Regions from separate parts of the Homo sapiens genome. Here region 2 is linked to region 1. The links are contacts of gene promoters, found by promoter capture Hi-C in human tissues and cell types (Jung and others, 2019). All regions are on one chromosome and are shown on one strand. The core of a region is centred on a gene start or on the middle of the fragment in contact, and the rest is flanking DNA. Distances in the headings are between cores, read along the strand shown. Region 1 holds the start of ZNF70 (zinc finger protein 70). Region 2 overlaps DRICH1 (aspartate rich 1).

Evidence for each region. Contacts are between HindIII fragments. The study calls those that stand out against the background at their distance.
Region 2: a fragment that was not itself captured here is called in contact with the fragment with the promoter of ZNF70 in region 1 in 1 of the 25 tissues and cell types used here (lymphoblastoid cells).

The regions. Positions count from the first base shown.
Region 1 is chr22:23,748,122-23,752,963 of GRCh38, reverse strand. ZNF70 (zinc finger protein 70) reads left to right here and starts at 1,852. Exons shown (of 2, transcript NM_021916.4): 1 at 1,852-2,253. VPREB3 (V-set pre-B cell surrogate light chain 3) reads left to right here. Exons shown (of 2, transcript NM_013378.3): 2 at 1-221. The coding sequence ends at 88. RefSeq lists enhancers at 1-66, 577-636, 1,477-1,536, 1,419-2,094 and a silencer at 1,687-2,136. The HindIII fragment of the contact is 11,413 bases long and covers 1-4,842 here.
Region 2 is chr22:23,606,105-23,611,240 of GRCh38, reverse strand. It overlaps DRICH1 (aspartate rich 1), which reads left to right. Exons shown (of 12, transcript NM_016449.4): 12 at 2,473-2,789. The coding sequence ends at 2,477. Among named protein-coding and RNA genes, the nearest start is that of DRICH1, 24 kb to the left of the region's middle. The HindIII fragment of the contact is 7,781 bases long and covers 1-5,136 here.

The sequences.
Region 1 (4,842 bases), core at 603-3,102:
CAATGCCTGTGTCCTCACCATTAGTCCCGTGCAGCCTGAAGACGACGCGGATTACTACTGCTCTGTTGGCTACGGCTTTAGTCCCTAGGGGTGGGGTGTGAGATGGGTGCCTCCCCTCTGCCTCCCATTTCTGCCCCTGACCTTGGGTCCCTTTTAAACTTTCTCTGAGCCTTGCTTCCCCTCTGTAAAATGGGTTAATAATATTCAACATGTCAACAACAGCTATTGTGAGGGTCATAAGATCCTGGCTGAGAAAAATGACTGTGGTGGGTCTGGGAGTCGAAGACCCACTCCTGGGGTGGGGAGCAGTGTGCGGGGGAATGGGGATTCTGGGGACTGTTGTCAAAGAGGAAGCACCTGAGACTATTGGGGCATGGCCCAGACTCCCCCACCATGGCCCCCTGGGGGCTCAAACTGGTAGCCTGACCTTCCTGTGACCTGAGGAGCCGGAGGGAGAAAAAGGAACCAGCCCTTGCCGCCCCCAACTCTGCATGGCTGGTTATGGTCCAAGGGTTATGGCTCTAGGGTGGCTGGTCCCCATGGAGCTCAGGCTGTTGGCTTGGGGAGGGGCAGCCACTGCCTACCCCTTGGAGTCTGTGCCCAAGGCCCGACAGAGCATTAATGGGGCAGGAAGGCAGGTGTGTGTGGGTAGCATTGGAGGCACTCGAGCGCCAAGGCTGAGGGTGCTGAAGGCAGGTGGGCGGCTGGGGCAGAATCCTTTTTCCCAGGGACAGTGTGTTCTCCTGATGTCCTGTGATTGGGCCAAGGTCTGCGGAGGGAAGCTCTCCCACAAGCTGGGCAGCTGCACCTGAGGGGGGGGTGTCATGGGCAGAACACTGGGTGGAGGGGCCAGTCTTGCCATCAGCAGCAAGGAGGGGGCGGAGATTCCTTTTCTTTTTTTTTTTTTTGTTTTTTGAGATGGAGTCTCGCTCTGTCGCCCAGGCTGGAGTGCAATGGCACTATCTTGGCTCACTGCAACCTCCGCCTCTCAGGGTCAAACGATTCTCCTGTCTCAGTAGCTGGGATTACAGGCGCTTGTCACCACTCCCGGATAATTTTTAGTAGAAACAGGGTTTCACCATGTTGGTCTGGCTGAGTCTCGAACTCCTGACCTCGTGATCCACCCGCCTCCGCCTCCCAAAATGCTGGGATTAAAGGCGTGAGCCACCGCGCCCGGCCAAGGGGGCGGCCATTTCAAGAACACATTCCTCTTCCCTCCCGGTGCGCCTGAGAGGAGGCGCTTCATGTCGAAGTCAGCCCTGGGATGCAGAGAGTTGGGGGGCTCAGGGTCCTGGGATGGTCTCGCAGACACTCCTAGTTCTTCGCCTGCCCCTTCTCATCTCTATTTCTGTGGGGGCGGGGAGGGCAGACAGGAACAGGGCTACCCTTGAAGCAGGTTGGGGGAGGGGGATCCTAACAGGACCCCGGTGCCTGTGGACAGTGACAGGGTCGACAGCTCTGGGGCTCCACTCTCCTTTCCCTGAAGACCCCAGCTGCCTCAGTGGCTTCTGGCTTGCACCCAGCACCAGCGCAGATGCCCCGAGTGCCGGCGGCTCGAGGTCGGCCCGCCCGTCCGGACCTGTTTCCTCCTCTGCTCTCCTGCCAACGCCTGCCCATCTCTGTTTCCCCCACGTCCAGCACGCGCTTCGGGGACGGCCAGAGCCACCATGCCGACTGGAGAGACTCTCCTGATTCGGGTCCTTGTGTCCCGGGGCCCGGGCGGCTTCGCGCGGCGACAACCGGCGCGGTGGGACCACCGAGACGCCGGGACCTCCGCGCGGCCTAGAGTGGTCCCGGAAGTGCCCGCGGGCCGGGGGCGGGGCTCTGGGTGCTCGGGCGGCCGCGGGCTCCGCGTCAGCAGCTGCTGTGGAGCCAGGCAGCGTCGGCCGCGTCGGCCGCGGGTTGGAGCAGCTCAGGTGCGGCCCCGCCCCGCCCGCCTGCGGCCCCGCCCCGGCCCAGGTGAGCTGCCCCGCCCCGGCCCAGGTGAGTGGCCCCGCGTCCGCCGGTGTGACCTGAGTCCGCCTGACCACCTGTCCCTCCGGTGGCCCTGGGTGTGCGTGTCCCCAATCGCGGGGAAGCCTGTAGGGGCGCCACGTCGCCGCCTGGGCAGCGTGTGCGGGTCCGTGGCAACTCTTGGGCCCCCAGCCAGGAAACCTTGACTGCACTAAGAGTTTGCAGGGTGCCCAGGCCCTAGGGACTCTCTGGAGGATGGGATGACAGATGCAGGAGGACCCGGAGAAGGCCCCGACAGAGGTGGGAAGCATGGAGTTCCAGATCTTTGCATTTTCGGTCCAAAAACACTTATCATGTTGTGGGAGACAGATAAAGGGTTGCCAACTTTTTTCTGAGTGGAGACTTCAGGGTGTAGGGGCTATATAGTGGGAATGGAAAACCTCTACGGAGGGAAGTTTGAGAACACCAGGACTTAATGGGTGGGCGGAGGAAGAGTTGCAATCTAAAGATATCAAGAAAGAGAACTTGGAAGCCATGAAAATTGGGAAGAAAGCGAGGGTGGGGATGGGGTTGGGGGGTAGCTCAAAGCTTTCATGCACCTAGGTAGGCAATGTGGGCGGGTGAAGGGATATTGTCACATCTTCGTTTTTCAAGAGAAAGCCAGAAACCTACTGAGTTTTAAATATTGGTAACTAAGGAAAATGAACAGGAAAAGCCAAACTCTTCGAGAGCCAAACATAACATAGCAGGATCTTCAGGCTGCCAATTTGCAACCTCTGAAATGAAGGGTTTTGAGAAGGAGGTATTGGAGAGCAGTGCCAGATGGGGTGGGAAGGTGAAGACCGAGAAGAGAGGGATTGGCAATAAGGAGGTCATAGAATGCCAGAGCTGAGGTCCCAGCTGAAATCGGAAACTCGAAATTTGTCGTGGTGCCATACATAGTTGTATGATTTTTCTTGGCAACATTTAACAACTTAGGAGGAACTGGCCGAGAAGACTGGGACTTAGCGGCTAGTTGCAGCCGGACGAGGAGGTGAGGAGCATGGTGCTAGAGCGTGAGAGTTGAAGTGATGCGCATAGTATGGAGAGTCTAAGCTGGATGGAGAAGGGGTGGAGCTAGAAAAGGAGAACTACAGTAAAAATGGCTTGGATTTCATGAGGTCGAAAAGCACAAATTGAGTGAGAGAGCTGGAAGAGTTGGAGATTATGGGTTGCTGAAGAGGAGGGGGAGGGTGAGAGGAGTTGAAGTGATCAAAGAATTTTTGAAAATACTTTAGGGCTGGGCGAGGGGGCTCACGCCTATAATACCAGCACTTTCGGAGGCCAAAATGGGTGGATCGCATGAGCTCAGAAATTCGAGACCAGTCTGCACAACATGGCGAAAACCCATCTCTACAAAAAATACAAAAATTAGCCAGGTGTGGCACGTGCCTGTAGAGCCTGTATTCCCAGCTACTTTTTTTTTTTTTTTTTTTTTTTTTTTGAGACGGAGTCTCGTCCTGTCGCCCAGCCTGGAGTGCAGTGGCGCGATCTCGGCTCACTGCAAGCTCCGCCTCCTGGGTTCACGCCATTCTCCTGCCTCAGCCTCCCAAGTAGCTGGGACTACAGGCACCTGCCACCACGGCCGGCTTTTTTTTTTTTTTTTTTTTTTTTTTTTTTTTTGAGATGGAGTCTCGCTCTGTTACCCAGGCTAGAGTGCAGTGGCGCGATCTCGGCTCACTGCAACCTCCGCCCCCCAGGTTCAAGCGATTCTCCTGCCTCAGCCTCCCGGAGTAGCTGGGATTACAGACGCGCTGTAATTTTTGTAATTTTAGTAGAGACGGGGTTTCACCATCTTGGCCAGGCTGGTCTTGAACTCCTGACCTCATGATCCACCCACCTCGGCCTCCCAAAGTGCTGGGATTAGAGGCGTGAGCCACCGCGTCCGGCCTTTTTTGTATTTTTAATAGAGACAGGGTTTCACCGTGTTAGCCAGGATGGTGTCCTAGCTACTTAAGAGGCTGAGATAGGAGAATCACTTGAACCCAGGAGCCAGAGGTTCCAGTGAGCTGTAATCACACTACTGCACTCCATTCTGGAAAAAGAAAATACTTTAGTTCAGTGCTCTTTTTTTTTTATATCCAGTCGGTCTATTGGCTGAAAAATCATTTAAAAAAATCATTTCTGGGCTGGGCGTGGTGGCTCACACCTGTAATCCCAGCACTTTGGGATGCCAAGGTGGGCGGATCACCTGAGGTCAGGAGTTCGAGACCAGCCTGGCCAACATAGTGAAACCCCATCTCTACTAAAAATACAAAAATTATCCGGGCCTGGTGGCGGGTGCCTGTAATCCCAGCTATTCAGGAGGGTGAGGCAGGAGAATTGCTTGAACCCAGGAGGCAGAGGTTGCAGTGAGCCGAGATTGGGCCATTGCACTCCTGGCTGGGCAACAAGAGTGAGACTCCACCTCAAAAAAAAAAAAAAATCATTTCTGCTGGGCATGGTGGCTCATGCCTGTAATCCAGCACTTTGGGAGGCAGAGGTGGGAGGACTGCTTGAGCCCAGGAGTTCAAGACCAGCCTGGGCAACATAATATTATCTCATCTCTACAGAAAAATTAAAAAATTAGCTGGATGTGTTGATATGCCCCTGTAGTCCCAGCTACTTGAGAGGCTGAGGTTGGAGGATCAGTTGAGCCGGGGAGGTCAAGGCTGCAGTGAGCTGTGATTCTACTCCTGCACTCCAGCCTGGGTGACAGAGTGAGACCCTGTCTCAAAAAAAATTTTTTTTTCCAAGTAGAAATGAGTTCTGTTATGACTGTTCTGATTAATTTAGTTTTTTTTTTTTTTCTGAGGCAGTTACTCTCTAGATGCAGTATAAGGATAATTGTGCCTTTGTATAGAGTTGTGA
Region 2 (5,136 bases), core at 345-2,844, 140 kb after region 1:
GAGACACGCCAAGAGCTGGATCTCTTTAACGCCAAAGGTTAACCTATAAACTAACGTGCTACACCGCCTGTACTGGCAAAATAGAATTACCATAAAATGAAATTTGCTTCCACAACTGGGCATGTGAGTTCGGTGAGGCTGGTGTTACCCATTGCTCCATGGGTCAGAAATTGGTCTTGCTGAAGCTTGGAAGGAGAAGCTCTTGGCTCAGGGAGTGAAAAGTTACTGACAGGTTATATGAGTGCAATTGAAGGGTTATGCGTCCATAGAGCATGTGATGGAATGAGAACAGAGAGAATCAAAGAGAATCACCCAGAGCAGACTCTGTCTCAAAAAAAAAAAAAAAAATTTTGCCCATCTAATAATAGGTTAAAAATTAGATACAGTCAACCACACTGGGTCTTACTATGTAAAAAAAAAAAAGAGTGCTTTTAGACAGTGATAGGAAAGAAGAAAAAAATTAAAATAGTTGATGTGTTCTATGTGGGACTGTGGAATAAACTGCTTTTAAGTAGAGTTTTGTATGAAGTTCTTTAGGCAATAAGTAAAAATGGAAGGGAAACCTAACAGCAGAGAGCAGCCAGGACCACAGTTGCCTGTGGATGCAGAGACTGTGGTGGAGCCTGGAATGCCAAAGACCACGAGTCCCCGCGGGCAGTCAGTTCAGTGACAGCATCACCAATTATCTGATCGGCAGGCACCCCAGTAGCACATGGACAGAACAGGGAGGCCTAAGATGAGTCCAGGCCATGGAAGATCTCCAGTGAGGGGATCTTGGAAGATGTGAAAAGCATCCTGGAGGGGGAGGTAGCCCTGCAGCTTAGCGGTCCAGTTTCCCTCACTGGTCTTACTTGGTATGGCATAGAGGTGCTCACACAGCAGCCCCCAGTATCCTCCCACTTCCCTAAAGGCTTAAACACACCAAGATGTGTATCAGTTTCTTAAAGAGCACAATAGCACATTACTGAACAACCAAAATTGCAGAGAAGTGGCCTCATTTCCTGGAAGTGTTTCAGGGACGGGGAGGTGGTGAGGTGAGGAAATCCTCATGACCAAAGAAACATGAGGCCTGAGGACTGGCGGTTGGGCTCAGCCACATGGAGACCACGTCGTGCCCTACAAGAGCAATCTGGTGGTGTGGTGCTGGGGAGGAGAGACGGCCAGGGCAACAGAGCTTGTGCAGGGATTCAGAACCAGAGGGCTCCTCAGAACGGGCATAGGAGATGGTTCGTAAGGACCTGTCCCACTCCAGTGAAGGCATGAGGGGCAGGGAGGGAGGAAAGCAGCCCCACATAGGAGGATGCCCAGGGAGGGGAAGCAGGTCTTGGGAGAGCTAGGTTTCAGTCCAAGCAAGAAAGGAAAGAATGTTCCAGGGAGGGCCTCCAGAGGGCTTGGAGAAAAGGTTGCAGCAGATGGGGTCAGAAAAGGAGTATTCATGGCCTTGAGGGAGAGGTGAGCTGAGCTTCTTGCAGCCCCTGATGCAAACAGGGATGAAGGACATAGTGAGATTAGTCCTGAATCTGAGGCAGAGAGCGGTGAGGAGGCCGTGAGTTTGGGGAAGGGAGGGAAGGGCCTGGCTGGGAGAAGGCAGGGTTCTGGGCCCTCTACAGTCCTGCCAGGGAAAGTCAGAGCCCAGAGAGGCCCAGGGCTCCCTGCTGACACCTGCACAAACAGGTGTACCCCTGGTCAGGGGGTGCTCTGTAGACTGCTGTGGAGTGAGGGAGCAGCTTCTCCTGGGCACAAGACCCCAGGCACCTGCAGGATGCAGGGCTCCAGGCTCCCTCAGATGCCTGCTGATGGGTCTCCTCTGAGGGGCTGTAAACTGGCTTCCTGGGTACCCACAATGTACAAGGCACTTATTTTCAGTATGATGCCCCCGGCACTGCCAAAATCATACCCATTTATGATAGGCACAATTACTCGCCCCACTTTAGAGCTAGTGAAACTGAGGCACTGAGCAGTTAATCAACTTGCCCCAGACTCCACAGATAAACAGTCAGTGTAGAGCTGGGGGTCTCAACACAGCAGCCTCCCTCCATAGTGTGGGCTTATAGCCACTGGCTGTCCCTCTGCCCTTGTCCAAACTCAGCTGTCTGGGGTGTCAGTTTGTGCCTCTGGGCTACAGTTGAATGACCAGTTGCCTCTTCCAGGCTGGCTCCCATACCTCTCCCGACAGCAGTTTCTTAAATCCCAGAAGCTGATAACGGTAAATGGGCCTTGGAGAATGGAGGCAAGGGTGTGGGGCTCAGGACTTCTAGGTCCCAACATAGGCTGTGTTCCTGGCCCTCCCCTTGTAACAGAGGCACCTCTGTCCCTGGCTGATGAGTTTCCGCATCTGTAATTTCTCCTCAGCCTGGACTGCAGAGGCGGGAGCCCAGGGATGCTGGCGTGGAGGCTGCTTAGTGGGATGATGTCATAGTGCACAAAGCTGGGAGCCTGCTCTCACTAAAAAGGGATTATCTCTTCATCCAGGGTGAAGCCCTTCTGTGGAGCTGACCAGGGTGCTGACCCAAAGGGCAGGCCAGCGCGTGCTGCAGGGTCCCCAGCTTTGCCCCTGGAGGTCTCAATCCTCTCTACATTCTGAGGAAAACTCTTGGTCCCAGCAGAGAGAAAAAGTCCAAGGCTGCTTCCCACCCACCGCCAGCACTAGGTTTGGCCTGTACCATCCAGGACCCAGTGCTTCTGGGCCTGGCATTTCTCCTTTGGCAAGAGAGTGAGAAGAGACGTGACTGTGCTCCACGAGCAGAAAGTGCCATTCCCACTTGAAATAAAGAGACTGAGTGCATTTATTCAGGTGCAGAGGTGGCTGATCAGGTCTGACCCAATGAGGGGCTCAGGGTTTCCACTCAATGACATCGATGGCGATCTGGGTCACCTTCTATAAGGCCTCGCCCTCATAAGCCTTGCTGTCAGAGTCCTCCTCCAGGACACGGAAGGTGTGCATATGGGCCTGCAGGACCTTGCAGCCCTCAGGGGCCTCTGGCAGCATGGTGAGGGCCTTGGTGGCCTTCAGGCACACCCTGCCCATGCATGAGTGTAGCAGCTTCAGGAGCAGGCTGATGGCTTGTGCGTCCAGGGCCACCTACTTCTCGGCAGGCCACCAACACGGAATTTCTAACAGCCTGGGGGGGCCTCTTCTCACCCCCTCTCACCCTAGCCCTCTTTTGACCCTGGTGCCTGCAGAGTCTCAAAGGGAGGTGCCACCCTGTCCCACTGCTGCAGGGATTCCCTGATTCATTCATGCAGCGAGATGCTGAGGCAAGAGCTGGGTTTCCCCACCTCAGCAGTCTTTTGGGCCAGGTAATTCTCAACTTGGGGCCAAAGCTCCCCTGCTGTGACCTTTGGGTCTGGAGCAGCAAACAGAGCAAAGCCTTGTCCTCAGGAGCTCCCCTTGGGGATGACACAGAAAGTGATGGCAAGGATGGTGGTCACAGTGGACATAGGAGGATGCAGGGAGGCTGGGGAGGCTGCATTTTCAGAGAGAAAGTTCTCTCCTGGAAAGCCACTCTCCTGATCCCATGGAAAGGGACCTCTGTGCAAACCTAAGAATGATGGGGCGGGGATGGGGCCTGGGAACATGCATTTCCACAGACCACCCAGGGTCTGGTTCAGGGGCCACACTTGGAGAAATACCCGGGCCTCTAATGAGACTCTCAGAAGAAAGAGAAACCTGGACTTAGGGAAGGCAAGAGGCCCCCCCCCGCCCCCGCCAGCAAGAGGACATGGCCACGGCCAAGGCAGGGACTCTGGGGGTCGGTGACTGGCCCATCCTCACAATGAGGGTCCCAGTGTGGGAACACTCCCCAACCACTGCAAGCTCTGAGTCTTTGTGCTCCCCCAGTTTTGAGGCCAGGATGTAGACTGTGATCCTATGTGACCTGGACTGAGACACAAGACACTGTGCCTCCGTTTCCTCACCTGTGAAGGCAGACATCGCCTCCCTGGAGGGTTGTCTAAATGTGAGGTTTGGAGACAATGCCTGGCACACAGGACACACTCAGTGACCACTGGGTGTCAGGATCGTCACCAGTGCTTCTCCTGTTCTCGCCTTCCTCATGGGGTGGAGGTGCCAGACCCTCTCCTGCATCCTCCTGCAGGCAGGAGACAGCGGGTCCAGGACGAGCTCCCGGAACGCTCCTCCCTCTACAGCTTCCACATCAGTGAGCGGATCAGACCCTTGCTGATGACATCGTGGGCCCCTGCACAACAGGAAAGGGCACTGAGGGTGGACCGGCCACACCCCCTCCCATGCTGGTTGGCCTGCAGGGTGCAGGAAGGATTTTGCAGAGCAACTTGGTGGGTTTGACAGGAGAACTTGTAAGTTCCCCATCACCCCACGAAGCTGCCTGGCCAGGGGCCTGAGAAGCCAGCAGGAGGCTGTGGGTGGGTGACAGCCATGTCAGCAGTTGAATGAGAGGGCAGGCGCAGAGGACCCAGGGAGGGCCAGCCTTTGGTCGCTGGCATCTCAGGGGGCATCTGCCGTAGCAGGGCACAGTGGCCTGAGAGGCAGCAGCCAGCCCTGGGAGATCCCGCACCTCACTGCTGTGGGGCCCAGGCACACCAGGAGACCCTCCGCTCTTCCCTACCACTGCCCCAGAGTAGGGGAGCCAAGAAAGCCCCCGCTTCCCACCCCAAATATTTCAAAGGAGTTGGAGACTCACGCCTGGTCAGACCAGCCTTTGAGAAGAGCTTGGGTTCGACTCCGAGATGGAAGACCTAGAGTGGAGGCCAGTGTCTCACACACCAAAAAGAGCTGCGCCCCAACCGACGCCAATGGGAAGCCATAGGCTCTGGCCAAGGGGTCTTGAAGGGACCTGGGGCTCTATGGGAAGGGGGGCATCACATGGCACAGCTCGGGTACAGGTACTGGGAGAAGTACAATGAGGCAAGGCTCCCCCATAAACAGGCCCCACCTGGCTCCTCCCAGCTGGAGCTGGAAGCCTGGGAGGGAAGTGGTCAGTCCAGCCCCAAAAGCCTGTGGGGCAGGTAAGGGGTGAGAGATTTTATGGAATGTGGAGGCCTGTGGAGGAGACAAGCCAGAGGGTTGAGGAGGAACATCAACCCCTAGAGGGGCCTGGGCAGACACTAGCTTTCACTAAAGGGTTACTATTTTGTCCATCATGAACTTGTTTGAAT